Regions from separate parts of the Homo sapiens genome. Here all the other regions are linked to region 5. The links are contacts of gene promoters, found by promoter capture Hi-C in blood cells and fetal thymus (Javierre and others, 2016). All regions are on one chromosome and are shown on one strand. Each heading gives the region's core, a stretch centred on a gene start or on the middle of the fragment in contact. The rest is flanking DNA. Distances are from core to core; before and after follow the strand shown. Region 1 holds the start of ZNF324 (zinc finger protein 324). Region 2 overlaps ZNF329 (zinc finger protein 329). Region 3 holds the start of ZNF835 (zinc finger protein 835). Region 4 holds the start of ZNF497 (zinc finger protein 497). Region 5 holds the start of ZNF134 (zinc finger protein 134).

What was found. The method cuts DNA at HindIII sites, captures the fragments that hold promoters and counts their contacts. A CHiCAGO score of 5 or more calls a contact.
Region 1: the fragment with the promoter of ZNF324 here is called in contact with the fragment with the promoter of ZNF134 in region 5 in 13 of 17 cell types (neutrophils, total CD4 T cells, activated CD4 T cells and 10 more); the score reaches 15.9 in neutrophils.
Region 2: a contact is called between a fragment that was not itself captured here and the fragment with the promoter of ZNF134 in region 5, in 5 of 17 cell types (activated CD4 T cells, total CD8 T cells, naive CD8 T cells and 2 more). The highest score is 6.1, in activated CD4 T cells.
Region 3: the fragment with the promoter of ZNF835 here is called in contact with the fragment with the promoter of ZNF134 in region 5 in 8 of 17 cell types (total CD4 T cells, M1 macrophages, naive CD4 T cells and 5 more); the score reaches 7.1 in total CD4 T cells.
Region 4: a contact is called between the fragment with the promoter of ZNF497 here and the fragment with the promoter of ZNF134 in region 5, in 12 of 17 cell types (neutrophils, monocytes, total B cells and 9 more). The highest score is 14.3, in neutrophils.

Annotation. Positions count from the first base shown.
Region 1 is chr19:58,465,689-58,468,397 of GRCh38, forward strand. ZNF324 (zinc finger protein 324) reads left to right here and starts at 1,392. Exons shown (of 4, transcript NM_014347.3): 1 at 1,392-1,495. RefSeq lists enhancers at 1,123-1,739, 1,740-2,354 and silencers at 1,382-1,431, 1,512-1,641. The HindIII fragment of the contact is 6,014 bases long and covers 1-2,709 here.
Region 2 is chr19:58,127,851-58,130,550 of GRCh38, forward strand. ZNF329 (zinc finger protein 329) reads right to left here. Exons shown (of 4, transcript NM_024620.4): 4 at 1-1,661. The coding sequence starts at 1,653. The coding sequence ends at 28. Among named protein-coding and RNA genes, the nearest start is that of ZNF329, 22 kb to the right of the region's middle. The HindIII fragment of the contact is 846 bases long and covers 853-1,698 here.
Region 3 is chr19:56,670,451-56,673,150 of GRCh38, forward strand. It overlaps ZNF835 (zinc finger protein 835), which reads right to left and starts at 1,307. Exons shown (of 2, transcript NM_001005850.3): 1 at 1,126-1,307. It overlaps LOC105372473 (a long non-coding RNA gene), which reads left to right and starts at 1,529. Exons shown (of 4, transcript XR_936110.4): 1 at 1,529-1,981. The HindIII fragment of the contact is 4,177 bases long and covers 1-1,401 here.
Region 4 is chr19:58,361,434-58,364,169 of GRCh38, forward strand. ZNF497 (zinc finger protein 497) reads right to left here and starts at 1,318. Exons shown (of 3, transcript NM_198458.3): 1 at 1,244-1,318. It overlaps ZNF497-AS1 (ZNF497 antisense RNA 1), which reads left to right and starts at 1,193. Exons shown (of 3, transcript NR_136527.1): 1 at 1,193-1,319. It also overlaps the pseudogene RNA5SP473. RefSeq lists enhancers at 605-1,153, 883-1,012. The HindIII fragment of the contact is 6,825 bases long and covers 1-2,736 here.
Region 5 is chr19:57,612,814-57,615,513 of GRCh38, forward strand. It overlaps ZNF134 (zinc finger protein 134), which reads left to right and starts at 1,429. Exons shown (of 3, transcript NM_003435.5): 1 at 1,429-1,690. RefSeq lists an enhancer at 1,324-1,503 and a silencer at 1,634-1,683. The HindIII fragment of the contact is 2,580 bases long and covers 1,006-2,700 here.

The sequences.
Region 1 (2,709 bases), core at 142-2,641, 850 kb after region 5:
ATCGCTCACCTTGGCCACCCAAAGTGCTCAGATTCCAGGTGTGAGCCACTGCGCCCAGTCCTGAAATGTTCTTAAATTCTTTCAAAGTAGCAAAATTTATATTAAAACATTCCAAACATGATGAGCTCCCTTGCTCTACAAGGATTTACAAGTAGAATCAATTAGGTGGACAGTTATAGCTGACAGTTGACAGAGAGATAGTTATAGATGGAGGTAGGTATAGAGGGAGGGAGGCAAAAAGAGTTAAGGAACTGGACAGCTGAGAACTGTCTACAGGTTCCAAAAACAAGACAAAGAACCTTTTATTATCTGCCAAACAAGACAGTCTACATTGAGACTGCTCTGCCTTTCGTTTTTATGTGTCAAAGACACTTAAATTGGCCTGTAATCCCAGCACTTTGGGAGAACGAGGTGGGCGGATCACCTGAGGTCAGGAGTTCAAGACCAGCCTGGCCAACATGGTGAAACTCCATCTCTACTAAAAAATACAAAAATTAGCCAGGCATGGTGGCGCACACCTGTGGTCCCAGCTACTACGGAGGCTGAGGCGGGGGGATCACTTGAACCTGAAGGCAGAGGTTGCAGTGAGCCGAGATTGTGCCACTGCACTCCAGCACGGGCAACAGAACAAAGACCCTGTTAAAAAAAAAAAAAAAAAACTTAAATGAGTCCCAAGAAAAAAGGAAAAAAGAATGAATATTGTGATGTGTGGGGCAAGACAAGATCTAGATGGTCTAAGGACAAGCAAATCTGGGGAATTAACTTCTGCCCATCCAAATTACAAGGAAAACAGATGCTTTGGGCAAGTGTCGAGGAACAGTCTCATACTTAAGACAAATGTAGGCTTACGGGCTGAGAATTCTTGGTGTAAAGGTTGAAAACGGACCTTAAACCTTTACGGGACATTGACACAGAGAGGTCAAACCCGCGCCCAGGACGCACAGTCAGTGAGAGGCAGAGCTGGGAAGGGAACCCGGAGCTCCAGGCATCGGCTCCTCCACCTCCACCTGCGCTACCCGGTGCATTTTCTCCTCCGTGCTCACTGCTGGTGTTGCCTCTTGGAACCTCGGCAGTTTCTGCTTTCGCACCTGCAGGGTTTAGTCTCCGGGACTGCTTGGGAGGACACCTGGAATGCCGAAGGCAGGACTACACACCGGGCGAATCCACCAGCGCCACCAAGCCCTTGAAAACCCGAGGCCGCCGCGCGACTCCATTTCCCAGCGCCCCGCGCGGCAGGGGCTTGGACGTTGCCAAGGAGACCGGTAGTGGCCCCGCCTCCACGCAGGGAAACAGGCGGGAACCACGTGACCCGGAAGGCTGTACGCAAGCGTCCGCGGCGCGCACTGGGCCAATGAGAACCGAAGGGCTGGACTTCCGGCGGTGGGACTGTCACTTCGCCGCCCGCGTCAGGCCACACCGGTGGTCTGGGCTGGGGACCGCGGGTCGGGTCCGGTTTCCAGGGGGTTCCTGGTGCTCGAGGCTGGCGGCGAGGAAGGTACTGGCTGAGGGCCCGCGTCGGGCCCGCCCTGCGCACGCGTCGTGATCAAGGGCGCCGGCCGCCGGCCGCGCCCCCAAGCCTCTGTTTCTCAGAGTGCGTCGTGGGCGTCCAGGGGACTGTCGGGCCGCGGCGGGAGCCATGCGCTCTCCCACCGTGCGGCAGCCCAGGAGGCTGCGCGCTGGGCGTTCCACGTCCATGATGGCCGGGGAGACTGAGGCGCGGGGCGGCCCCGGGACGCTGCTGGCGGGGAAAGGCTGGGTGGTCCACGCCTTTCTTCCCTCCCAGCTGCGGGTTCCGCTGGCGGCGGTGGCGCTGACAAGCCCGCGTCGGGGAAGCAGGGGAGTCCCTGCTCACACAGACCGCGCCCTCACGGAGGGAGGCCGCTTCCTAGACCTCGCCTAGTCGTCTTTCCTCTCCCTGCCCTGGGGGGGTTGCGGGGGTCAGTGCAAACTCCTGCGTCCAGGGCACTGGTGAGCTCCCGAGTTCGGGCAGCCAGGGGGCTGAGGTCCCGAAGGAGGCTCCGAGGGGAGAGTCCTGCGTGTGCAAAACCTGGGAGGGGAGCCGAAGCCCAGGTGCTTCTGGGACTGAGCTCTCTCGATGTGGAGCTGGAGTAGAGGGGATGTGTGCGGCTGCAGTATCAGGCGAGGGAGTGGGCTTTATCTCGAGGGCGTCGGGAGACATAGAAGTTTTGAACAGAATCAGGACATCCTCTGAGGACTTTAAAACGGTTCCACCGTTTGTTGCGTGGAGAACAGACATGCAGGGGTGTCGGCATGAAGGGAAGAACCGACTGCCACAGTCTGGGCAGCAGTGGAGGTGGGCGACCAGGTGAATTCTGGTGGATCTGCGGATGCATCAGGTGTGGGCTGTTTGAAGAACTAAGTACCCCATGTTGTTCAGCCTGAGCGCCTGGAAGAAGAGAGCTGCTGTAGATAGAAAGGAGAATTGAAAGGAAAGCAGGTTTCCTTCAGGGGAAAGATCAAGAGTCTGGGATGTCCCAGGTTGGTCATGTCACTGGACCTGACGTTGTTGGCGTCCTGGGCTGTGGACAGGGCCTATGAATTGGACTGAGGAATGGGCAGGGACTCAGCCAGGTGTGGGCAGTTATGGCTTGAGGGTAAAGAAGACCAGCTGGGATGCCTGGGGCTATTGGGAAGAGCCTAGCACCTAACTGAGGAGGGGAGGGTGGCAACAGAGAGGGGAAGAAAGGG
Region 2 (2,700 bases), core at 26-2,525, 510 kb after region 5:
CTGGAAGACTCATGTGGCCCCCAACCATTATGTTTCCATGGGTTGCTCTCCCAGGTGTGCTCTTTGATGTCGAACAAGGGATGAGCTCTTTTGGAACATTTTTCCACACTGAGGACACCGGCTGGGACCCTCCCTGCTATGGAGTCTCTGATGTACTGCCAGGTGAGAGTTCTGCTTGAAGGACTTCCCACATTCTGGACACTGATATGGGGTCTCCTTAGTGTGAATTCTCTGGTGCTTGGTCAGACAGGAGCTGTCCCTGAAGGCTTTGCCACACTGATTACACTCATAGGGCTTCTCACCAGTATGAGTCCTCTGGTGCCTAATGAGGCCAGCGATATTCCTGAAAAGTTTCTGACACTGGTTGCAGCCATAGGGCTTCTCGCCAGTATGAATCCTCTGATGCCTGATGAGGTACGCACTCTCGATGAAAGTCTTGCCACATTCTTTACATTCATAGGGTTTCTCCCCAGAATGGATCTTTTGATGCACAATGAGGTGAGAGTTTCTGTTGAAGGATTTCCCGCACTCTGCACACTCAAAGGGCTTTTCTCCAGTGTGAGTCCTCTCATGCTGGGTGAGGTACGAGCCGTCCCGGAAAGCCTTTCCACATTTGCTACACTCATAGGGCTTCTCACCGGTGTGGATTCTGAGATGCACTGTAAGGTGGGAGATGTCAGTGAAGGGTTTCCCACATTCGTTACATCTATATGGTTTTTCCCCTGTATGAGTTCTTTGGTGCAAAATTAAGGATGAATTTCGGTTGAAGGTTTTTCCACACTCTAGGCATTCATAAGGTTTCTCGCCTGTGTGAATTCTCTGGTGCTGTGTCAGAGCTGAGCCATCACTGAAAGCTTTCCCACATTTACTGCATTCATAGGGCTTCTCTCCTGTGTGGATTCTTTGATGCACAATCAGGTTGTAGTTCTTGGAGAAGGACTTTCCACACTCATTACAAGTATAAGGCTTCTCTCCGGTGTGAGTTCGGTGATGCAAAACAAGAGAAGAGTTCCGTTTGAAGCATTTGCCACATTCAGTACATCTATATTGTTTCTCTCCAGGGAGATTTCTCTGGTTTTCATTAAGCGATGAGCTCAGAGTAAAGATGTTCTCAAAATTCTTACCTTCATACGATTTCTTGCCTCTTTTCATTATTTTCTGATGACCAAGAGAGGTAAAATGATTAAAAGACTTAACACTTTCAGGGTATTTGTAGGGCTTCTCTCTCACTGGATTTCTTCCATGAATAACTTCCATGGAATGGTTGAAGCCTTTTCCACAGGCATCACTGTCACCAGTTCTCTTATCTGCATAACTTTTAGGATAGCTGGGTAAGGCGGGGTCACAATCCAGACCACTAACATTTGAGTCAGGTGCATGGAAACCATTTGTTGCCAGAACTCTCTGAGACGGTGGAAGGTCTGAGCTTGCAATCAAATGCTCCCCAAAACCAGGATATTCACAAATTGCTTCCTGAGTCCCTGGTTTCTCCAGAGTTAAAGCTGATTGCCTCAAGTGTCCCTCCTGGTTCTCACAGTCCCAACCATCACCTAAACTGGACAAGCAGGGAACTTCCCTTGTGAATCTTTCCACTTCTACATCACAGGGTACTTCTCTCTCAGGAAAATTCCGAGTCGTCATTTTCAATCTCATATCCCAAACTGCAAAAAGAAGAAAAATGCAGACTTAGGTATATGAAGCTTTATCTGTAAGAGAAACAGACAATGATGATGGGCTAGGTGTAAAGATGTGTATTTTTTTACTTGTTTTCTCTTTTAAATTCAAATTTATACAAGGAAGAGGTAAAATCGTAGCCAAGGAATGGAACCAAGAACAGATTCAAAAAGAGCCATGTAGCATTTTCATCTTCCTAGAGAGCAGGCAGGAGGAATGGACCTCGGGATAAATCATCACCAAAAGGATTAGTTTGAGATGTGAGAGACCAGAGGCCAAGCATCCCTGCTCCCCCTAGAATTCCATCCCAGCCACTGCATTCTTGTCCCTGTCACACACTGCCCATCAGTACACATTTCCAAAGCTCTGACTTCACAATGAGCTTACAACAGCACTGAAGGAACAGTTCTCACCCCAGCTCTGTCATCAAAGTTCTGCATTCATGGATAGGACAAAGCACAGGCTTGGTGACCTAAAAGTTCTGGGTCTAAGTCTTAGAACTGTCAATGACCTGGCGGGGCACAGTGGTTCACTCCTGTAATCCCAGCACTTTGGGAAGTGGAGGCAGGTGGATCATTTGAAGTCAGGAGTTCAAGACCAGCCTGACCAACATGGTGAAACACCGTCTCTACTAAAAATACAAAAAAAATCAGCCAGGCGTGGTGGCACATGCCTGTAGTCCCAGCTACTCTGGAGGCTGAGGCAGGAGAATCACTTCAACCTGGTAGGCAGAGGTTGCAGTGAGCTGAGATCACACCACTGCACTCCAGCCTACGCGGCAGAGTGAGACTCCATCTCAAAAAACAAAACAAAACAAAAACTGTCAAAGACTGCCCTGCATGGTTGTTATAAAAACTGGATCATGTCGGCCAGGCGCGGTGGTCACGCCTGTAATCCCAGCACTTTGGGAGGCCGAGGTGGGCAGATCACAAGGTCAGGAGATTGAGACCATCCTGGCTAACGTGGTGAAACCCCGTCTCTACTAAAAAAATACAAACAATTAGCCAGGCGTGGTGGCGGGCGCCT
Region 3 (2,700 bases), core at 57-2,556, 940 kb before region 5:
CCCCATGCAAGGAGGCAGGTGGGAAGCCATCACCTGCAGCCACACTCACACATGCACACAGGGTCCCGGGCACACGTAGCTACACACACACCCAGCCCCACACGTAGCTCCCTGTGTGAAGAGGTGCACAGAGACGCACAAGGTCACACATGCCACCTGCTCCACACAGGCCGGCCATTACTGGGACACACCCACAGGGGATGGCTGGACACATGTGCAGTCACACTCGGTGGATAGAGCTCCAGCATAGCCAAAGCCCACATGTGCAGCGTCTCCATCATGTGCAGATGCACACACTTCAGACAGCACGGCACTCTACAGGCTCGCACAGCCAGGTCACCCATCATTGTGCTGGCAGGCACACGGGCCGAGCCAGCCTACACGGCGGCACACCCAGACATGCACACGTGGGGTCACACACCTCACATCCAGGAGAACTTTCAGACTTGCCCAAAGGCAGCCACACGTGTATGTGACATGCTGTGATATGCAGACACCGCTTCACATGAACGAGCACATAACACACCGATAAAGTGTTACATGCCTTTACCTGCAGTCACCTGCCTGGGCTGGCACCACTGAGTGAGCAGGTGCAGACACAGTGACACTCGGGGACGGGCTCACAGGCAGTCACACACCTGCAAGGCCTGGCACCGCCGAGTGAGCAGGTACAGACACAGTGATGGGCTGGCACCGCCAAGTGAGCAGGGGCAGACGCTGTGACACTCAGGGACGGGCTCACAGGCAGTCACACACCTGCACCTGCTGGTACCGTCGAGTGAGCAGGTGCAGACGCTGTGACACTCAGGGACAGGCTCACAGCCAGTCACACACCTGCACGGCCTGGCACCGCCAAGTGAGCAGGTACAGACACAGTGACGGGCTGGCACCGCCGAGTAAGCAGGTGCAGATGCAGTGACAGGCTCACAGGCAGTCACACACCTGCACCTGCTGGTACCGTCGAGTGACCAGGTGCAGACGCTGTGTTACTCAGGGACGGGCTCACAGGCAGTCACACACCTATACGGGCTGACACCGCTAAGTGAACAGGTGCAGACACAATGGCACTCGGGGACGGGCTCACACGCGGTCACACACCTGCAGGAACACGCGCACACTACACACCGTTGCTCTCGCCTCCCGGTATCACCTTCGAACGCGCTGGCCGGCCCCCTCCTAGCCTGGTGCAGTCGGCTCCGCTTCTACTCAGTCTCGGGTCCTCCTGGGCCAACGCAGACCCTGGTGCCTCCTTCCTTAGACGAGCTAAGGTCAAGACTTCTGCTGCTGCGGAGGAGCCCGCGCACCAGGCCGGGGTGGACTGCGCCTGCGCATCGGGCCCGCCTGGTTCTTAGGAACTACGACTCCCAGGGGGCGCTGCGCGCTCGCCGGCACCGCGACTAAAGCTTGCAAAGCCTGGGTCATCGAAACTACAACTCCCAGAAGGCTAAGCGTCTGCACACGCTAGGTCCGCAGGGCGCTGACCCCTGGGGGCCCGAGGAGCGCCGGGCTGCTGCCCCGAGCCCCGCCCACTACAGCCTCAGTGCATGGCGGTGGGCGCTTCCAGTAACTCAGGGGTGGGACTTTTTTCTTGCTCAGGGGATGAGGCCGAGCCCACAGGCTTAGAAAGAAGGAACTTGAGTCCGGGCACCTGTCATCCCAGCGCTTAGGGAGGCCGAGGCGGGTGGATCACCTGAGGTCAGGAGTTCGAGACCAGCCTGGCCAATATGGCGAAACCCCCGTCTCTACTAAAAATACAAAAATTAGCCGAGCATGGTGGCATGCACTTCCAGCTACTTGGAAGGCTGAGGCGGGAGAATGGCTTGAACCTGGGAGGCGAGGGTTGCAGTGAGCTGAGATCGCACCACTGCACTCCAGCCTGGGTGACAGAGCGAGACTTCGTCTCAAAAAAAAAGAAGAAGAAAGAAGGAAGCTGAGGTTCAGACAGGCTAAGTCCCTACTGCAGGCTGCGGAATCTAAAAAGGTAGGTGCCAGGGTTTGCAACCCACACTTTTATTTTGGTCTCAGGTAGCTGATGTCATTCCAGTCTATGGCAAAGAAGGTGGCAAATCCATTAACATAGATGAAGAATTTCATTTTACTTTTTAGTTTTATTTATTTATTTATTTTTATTATGTATCATGCTTTTAATACAAACTTTAAAAAATCTGGAACAATAGAAACTGTACAGATTTGATCAATCTTTTTGTTTTGTTTTTAAACTAAAATCTCTAAACACACCAATGTCCTATTCCAAAATATTGCACAACATTCTGAATACAAAACCCTTGATTGTATTCCTCCTTCACTGAAGAAAAAACTTCATGACCCTGCTCCCCGGGCTCCTCTCCAGGCTTGCGTCAATGCCCCCTTCCCATCCCTAGGGAGAAAACTAGAGAATCTATAACTCACTGCATTGAGAAAAAGACATCATTCTGGACTAACAGTTTCCATTCTTCAGAAGATAATCCACCTTTTGATTTGTTCCTGGGAAACAGGGATAGATAGAGGATGGGGAAAGGGGAGAAAAGGTTTTATTTCTCCTCTTTTTTTTTTAAAGTTTGTTTTTCCTGAAAAAATATGTTTCTCTCATCTTTTTAAGAAAAAATCTTGAAAAGAAAAAAATTGTTTTTACGTTAGAAATATACATATATTATATATACCTCTTACATTTTACAAATGTAGCAAATTATTCAATACAAA
Region 4 (2,736 bases), core at 68-2,567, 750 kb after region 5:
GCGACCTCCGCCTCCTGGGTACAAGCGATTCTCCTGCCTGAGACTCCCGAGTAGCTGGGATTACAGGCACCAGCCTCCACACCCGCCTAATTTTTGTGTTTTCAGTACAGATGGGGTTTCACCATGTTGCTCAGGCTGGTCTTTAACTCCTGAGCTCAAGGGATCCACCCGCCTTGGCCTCCCAAAGTGCTGGGATTACAGACATGAGCCACCGCACCTGGCCTCTAGTTTTTCAAGATGCCACCTTTAGGGGAATTGGGTAAAGCGTACATAGGGTATGCATTACTTGTTACTGCATGTGAATTTATAATTACCTCAAATCAAAAGTTAAATTTTAAAAAAACGACATCTGATTTCAATAAAAATCCATATTTGTGTATTGAAGTATCAGAAATCCGGGTCCCCCAAGGGCCCATGTTTCTTAAGGCGGAGCCAGGCACCGCTGCCCCTCCATCCTGTGGTGTGCGACCCCGACCCGCCAGCCCCCAGCCGCATCTATCAGGGCTGCCGTCCTGAGTCCGTCCTCGTCGTGGGATAGCATGTGAGCCCCGTAAGGTCCTTCCTGTCGGCCTCACTGCTCCAGCCTCCCCGACGTCCTCACGTCCACGCTGCGTGCCCTTTCTGAGCCTCAACGCCTCCTCCTCACCTCGACATGATCAGAGCCACCTCCCGCGTCAGTCCCAGCGCCCACGCCCCCAACAACGGGCACTTGTCCGACCAGTCACGGGTACTTGTGTCTCCCCCACAACCCCCAAGGCCTAGGCTGGACAAACAAATACGGAGTGGATAAAGGGGAGGAAGCTGCGGCCAGGTGGCGCGAGGCCTGTGCGGGCAGCTCCGGAGGCTGGGAGGCGAGCCCAGCCTGGTGAGCTCCGAAACTACCCGGGGCTGGGGACTGATGAACGAATAAATGAATGTGGGAAGAAATGATGGCGCGGCAGGGCATGAGTGAATGAGTGAAAGAATAAACGAGCAGGAGGAACGATGCCACAGAACTGATCGCCATAAGGCTCGCGTTCACCGAGAGAACAGCAAACGGGAGCCATTTCCGTCCCGACCACGGTCGCCTCTGGCCCGTGCAGGGCCACTTCCGGGCCGCTCTGGACGGCGCGGAGGCCTATCTCTCGGTGGTCCCAGAGGGCCCAGCTCAGGGCCGAGGCCCGTCCTGCCCCGCGCGGCGGGAGTGGTTGGAGCCGGAGGGCGGATCTGTGCCTGGCCGAGGGTGTCCGTCGGCGTCACTCACCGTCCTCGGCCCGCCTCTGCGTCCACTAGGAGCGGCCTGAAAGAGGCCCGCACGCGGGCTCGAGCCGCGTGGAATGGTAGGAGGGCGGGCACCGGGTCTCCTGGGGGCGCGGTTGCATTCGGCAGAGCGGCCCAAGGCGTCGCGTTTCTCCCCACTGCGCCTGCGTAACTATGCCGCGGCTGCGGGCGCGCGCCTTCTGGTTCCCATGGGGACGGCGCCACAGCCAAGCTACTCGGGCGTCCTGCGTTGCCATGGATGCGCTCCGCCCCTTCCTGCACCCGGCCAGCCTCTGCGGCACACACCCAACAGCTACACAGGCGCCTGGGGCTGCCCGGGTCGCGGACGCAAGTCGGGCCAACGTAGCTTCTCCCTGGCGGTCCTCCTCCGGCCCCAGGCCGTCTTTACCACCCTGGAACCTTGCTGAGTTGACGCCACTGAGCTGCGTCTCACACCCACGCGCTGTGGAACACCCACCAAGCTGGAATCCACGCGGTTTTTAAAATAGAGTCGGGGGCCGGGCGCGGTGACTCACGCCTGTAATCCCAGCACTTTGGGAGGTCGAGGCGGGCGGATCACGAGGTCAGGAGATCGAGACCATCCTGGCTAACACGGAGAAACCCCGTCTCTACTAAAAATACAAAAAATTAGCCGGGCGTGGTGGCGGGCGCCTGTAGTCCCAGCTACTCGGGAGGCTGAGGCAGGAGAATCGCTTGAACCTGGGAGGCGGAGCTTGCAGTGAGCCGAGATCGCGACACTGCACTCCAGCCTGGGGCGACAGAACGAGACTCCGTCTCAAAAAAAAAAAAAAAAAATTGAGTCGGGATCTCAGAAGCTAAGCAGGGTCGGGCCTGGTTAGTACTTGGGAGACCGTCTGGGAACACCGAGTGCTGTTGGCTAAAATAAATAAATAAACCGGGCGCGGTGGCTCACGCCTGTAATCCCAGAACTTTGGGAGGCCGAGGCGGGCAGATCACGAGGTCAGGAGTTCGAGACCAGCCTGACCAACATGGTGAAACCCCGTCTCTACTGAAAATACAAAAATTAGGCTTGTTGGCGTGTGCCTATAATCCCAGCTACTCGGGAGGCTGAGGCAGGAGAATCGCTTGAACCGGGGAGGCAGAAGTTACAGTGAGCTGAGGTCGTGCCACTGCACACTCCAGCCTGGGTGACAGAGCAAGACTCCGTCTCAAAAAACAACATAGACCAGATGCTGTAAGCTAAAATAAATGAATAGCTAGAGACGGGGTCTCGCTATATGGCCCAGGCTGGTCTTGAACTTCTGGGCTCAAGTGATCCTCCCACCTTGGCCTCCCAAAGTGCTAGGATTACAGACCCGAGCCACTGCACCCGGCCTCCACGAGCTCTTTTTGTACCAATTTTTCCCAATTTGTACTAGGGAGCTCTCACCTCAGCCCAGGTGGTTTGGGCAGGTGTGGGTACATGGCCCAGGTCCACAGCACAGGGCAGTCCATCCCTCTGGCCCTGGCAGTGGT
Region 5 (2,700 bases), core at 179-2,678:
GTCATCTTAACCGTTTTCACTTATCACAGATATGTTTCTCCAGGTCCATTTCGTCATGTATCTGTGAATAACTACAGAATTATTAACTTTGAGTAATTTGGCCGGGCGCGGGGGCTCTCCTGTAATCCCAGCACTTTGGGAGGCTGAGGCGGGCAGATCACGAGGTCAGGAGATCGAGACCATCCTGGCTAACACGGTGAAACCCCATCTCTACTAAAAATACAAAAAGTTAGCCGGGCATGGTGGCAGGCGCCTGTAATCCCAGCTACTCCGGAGGCTGAGGCAGGAGAATAGTGTGAACCTGGGAGGCGGAGCCTGCAGTGAGCTATGGTCGCACCACTGCACTCCAGCCTGGGCGACTGAGCAAGACTCCGTCTCAAAAAAAAAAAACACAAAACAACTTTTGAGTAATTTAAACAATTCACAAATGTTTTTGTCTTTCTTTCCCCATACACTCGCCCTTTTCTTTTTTAAAACCATAAATAAATCTCAATTCTCAATTCAGACACTGTCGGTGTAATTGCAGGTGAAATGAGAATCACCTCCCAGCCAAGAAATCTGATCCCAATTTTCCAAATCTTTATTTCTGGGTTCAGACACCACATTTTCAGCCCCTGTCTTGGCATATAAAAGCATTTATAATGGTTCTTCTTTTCAGATAAGAAACATCACCAAAAGGAAATAGATATATCTCAACTTTTGGGCTAGGAACTCTCATTTGGATAAAAGAATATTTCTCCTTTGGTTGGACATTAGTGACCATACAGGCAGGAAAGGTGCCTTCCTTGACCACCTTCTCTCGCCTGTCTTCCTCCTCATGGTTCTCTCAGGTATTTTTTTTCTGAGGAAACCAGAGGAAGAGCTCTATATTAGTCCACTTGCCTCAGGGAGCTCCAGCATCCCTCCATAGCCACTGTCTGGAGACCATTCTTCCACTCCATGGCCCTGCCTGGGGACAATTCTCTGTTAACTCTGACCCAACTGAGGCTCACAAAACTGACTCAAAGCTTCCCTCTACAGTACACATATTTTTTAAATGAAGGAAATTTGACTGAACTATGAGTGGACTCAGAGTGACATTGGATGTTGTGTGTCCATTTGGTGGTGTGGCTTCAGGGAACATCTGTAAGAATATATCCCAATATTTCGGGGATCCCTGCAGACCTCACTACACAAGACCTGGTTGAGGGTCCTTTAAAAGGAGCGAAGCCACGCCCTGACCTCAGAGTCTCAGGGCATAATTTCTCAGCGCCCCTCGCAGTACCATTTGGCCTTTGCCCAGCGTGCAGGGGAGTTAGCCGTCACCACGGCCAAGTGCACATGAGAACTGCATTGCCCAGAAACCTGTGCGCCGCCCGGCGGCGGCACTCTTAGGGGCGTCTCCCTGCGGACGGAAGCTCTCTGGGCGGGACTTCCGGTATCTTCCTCGCGGTGGACATCTTGTCGGCTCTTAGGTGGAACCATCGGAGCAGAAGCTCGGGGTTGCTGGGCGGTTCCGAGGTGACGGAAGCGGGAGGGTGCGGGAGAAGTCGCTGTTCGCTCTGCGGAGTGGCTCGCCAGCGAAGACCCCGCCTGCGCCCCCGGGGACGGACGACCGCGGTGCCAGGGTCCCGCGACCTGGGACCCCCTCGCGGCTCCGGGTGGTCTACGAACTGTGATGGCGGCGGCCGCGGTGATGGGCCCGGCGCAGGTGGGTGCTGCCTTTCCCAGACTTTCGCCCGCCCCAAATCCTGAAGTTCCAAATGAGGAGCGCCTGTCTGAGTCCCTGCAGCGCAGGCCCCAGTGTCCAAGGCAGCGGGGCGCTGGTGGGTGGGGGCGAGTGTGACTGGCAGAGGGGCAGCCTGAGCATAGGTTTGGAGCTGGACTGAGCCCGTAGCAGTCGGGAGCGTGTGTGAACCGTAGTCAGGCCTGCAATGTCGAGGGGAGAAGTTGCTCCTTCATTGCGAGGACGATAGGAGCCATGGCGGGTTTTGAATGGTGGAGGGAAGGGATCCGAAAAAGGATTTTTAAAGTATTCCAATGTTTGCTGAGGAGGAAACCGACTACAGTGAGGTAGAAACGATGAGGATGGAGGCAAGGAGACGTTTGAGGAGGTCCCTGCAACAAACTCCAGAAGTGTTGCGGTGGTGGCTGGGCCAGAGCAGTGGCAGGAGGGGTTGGGTGGGGAAGTCATGAGATTCTGGGTAGATTTTTAAAGATGGAACCAATGGGGTTTCCTGCCGCATCAGATGTGGTCGTGAGTGAATGTAGGGAGGAAAGGGCTATCCAGGGTTTTTTTGGCCTGTTTTCCTTCCTGAACGTGTGAAAGAATGGAAATTGGTAAGTCACAGCAGGGAGCACGTTTCAGGGGCATCAGGAATTGGGTTTTGGACTTGGTGAATCTAAGGTGTTCTGCACTGGAGGTTCATCACGGGTAGCTGAACATGCAGGTCTGGGGTTCTAGAGAGGGAGTTGTGCTAGAGACTTCAATGGGTGAGGCATAAGGTCAAAGCCTGTAGTAGATCAGATTTAGAGGGTGGAATTTCAAGGAAGTTATTTTGTGTGGTCTCTGAAGTGAGAGGTGGGTTTAGGGTGGAAGGCCAGGGATGAAGGGGTGGACACTTAAGATTCCTTCCAGAAAGGAGGGGTCCTGGCATGTGAAAGCATTCTAGATGGTGTTGTTGGAAGTCAATGCTTGGTGCTGCAAAGTGAAACCAGCAC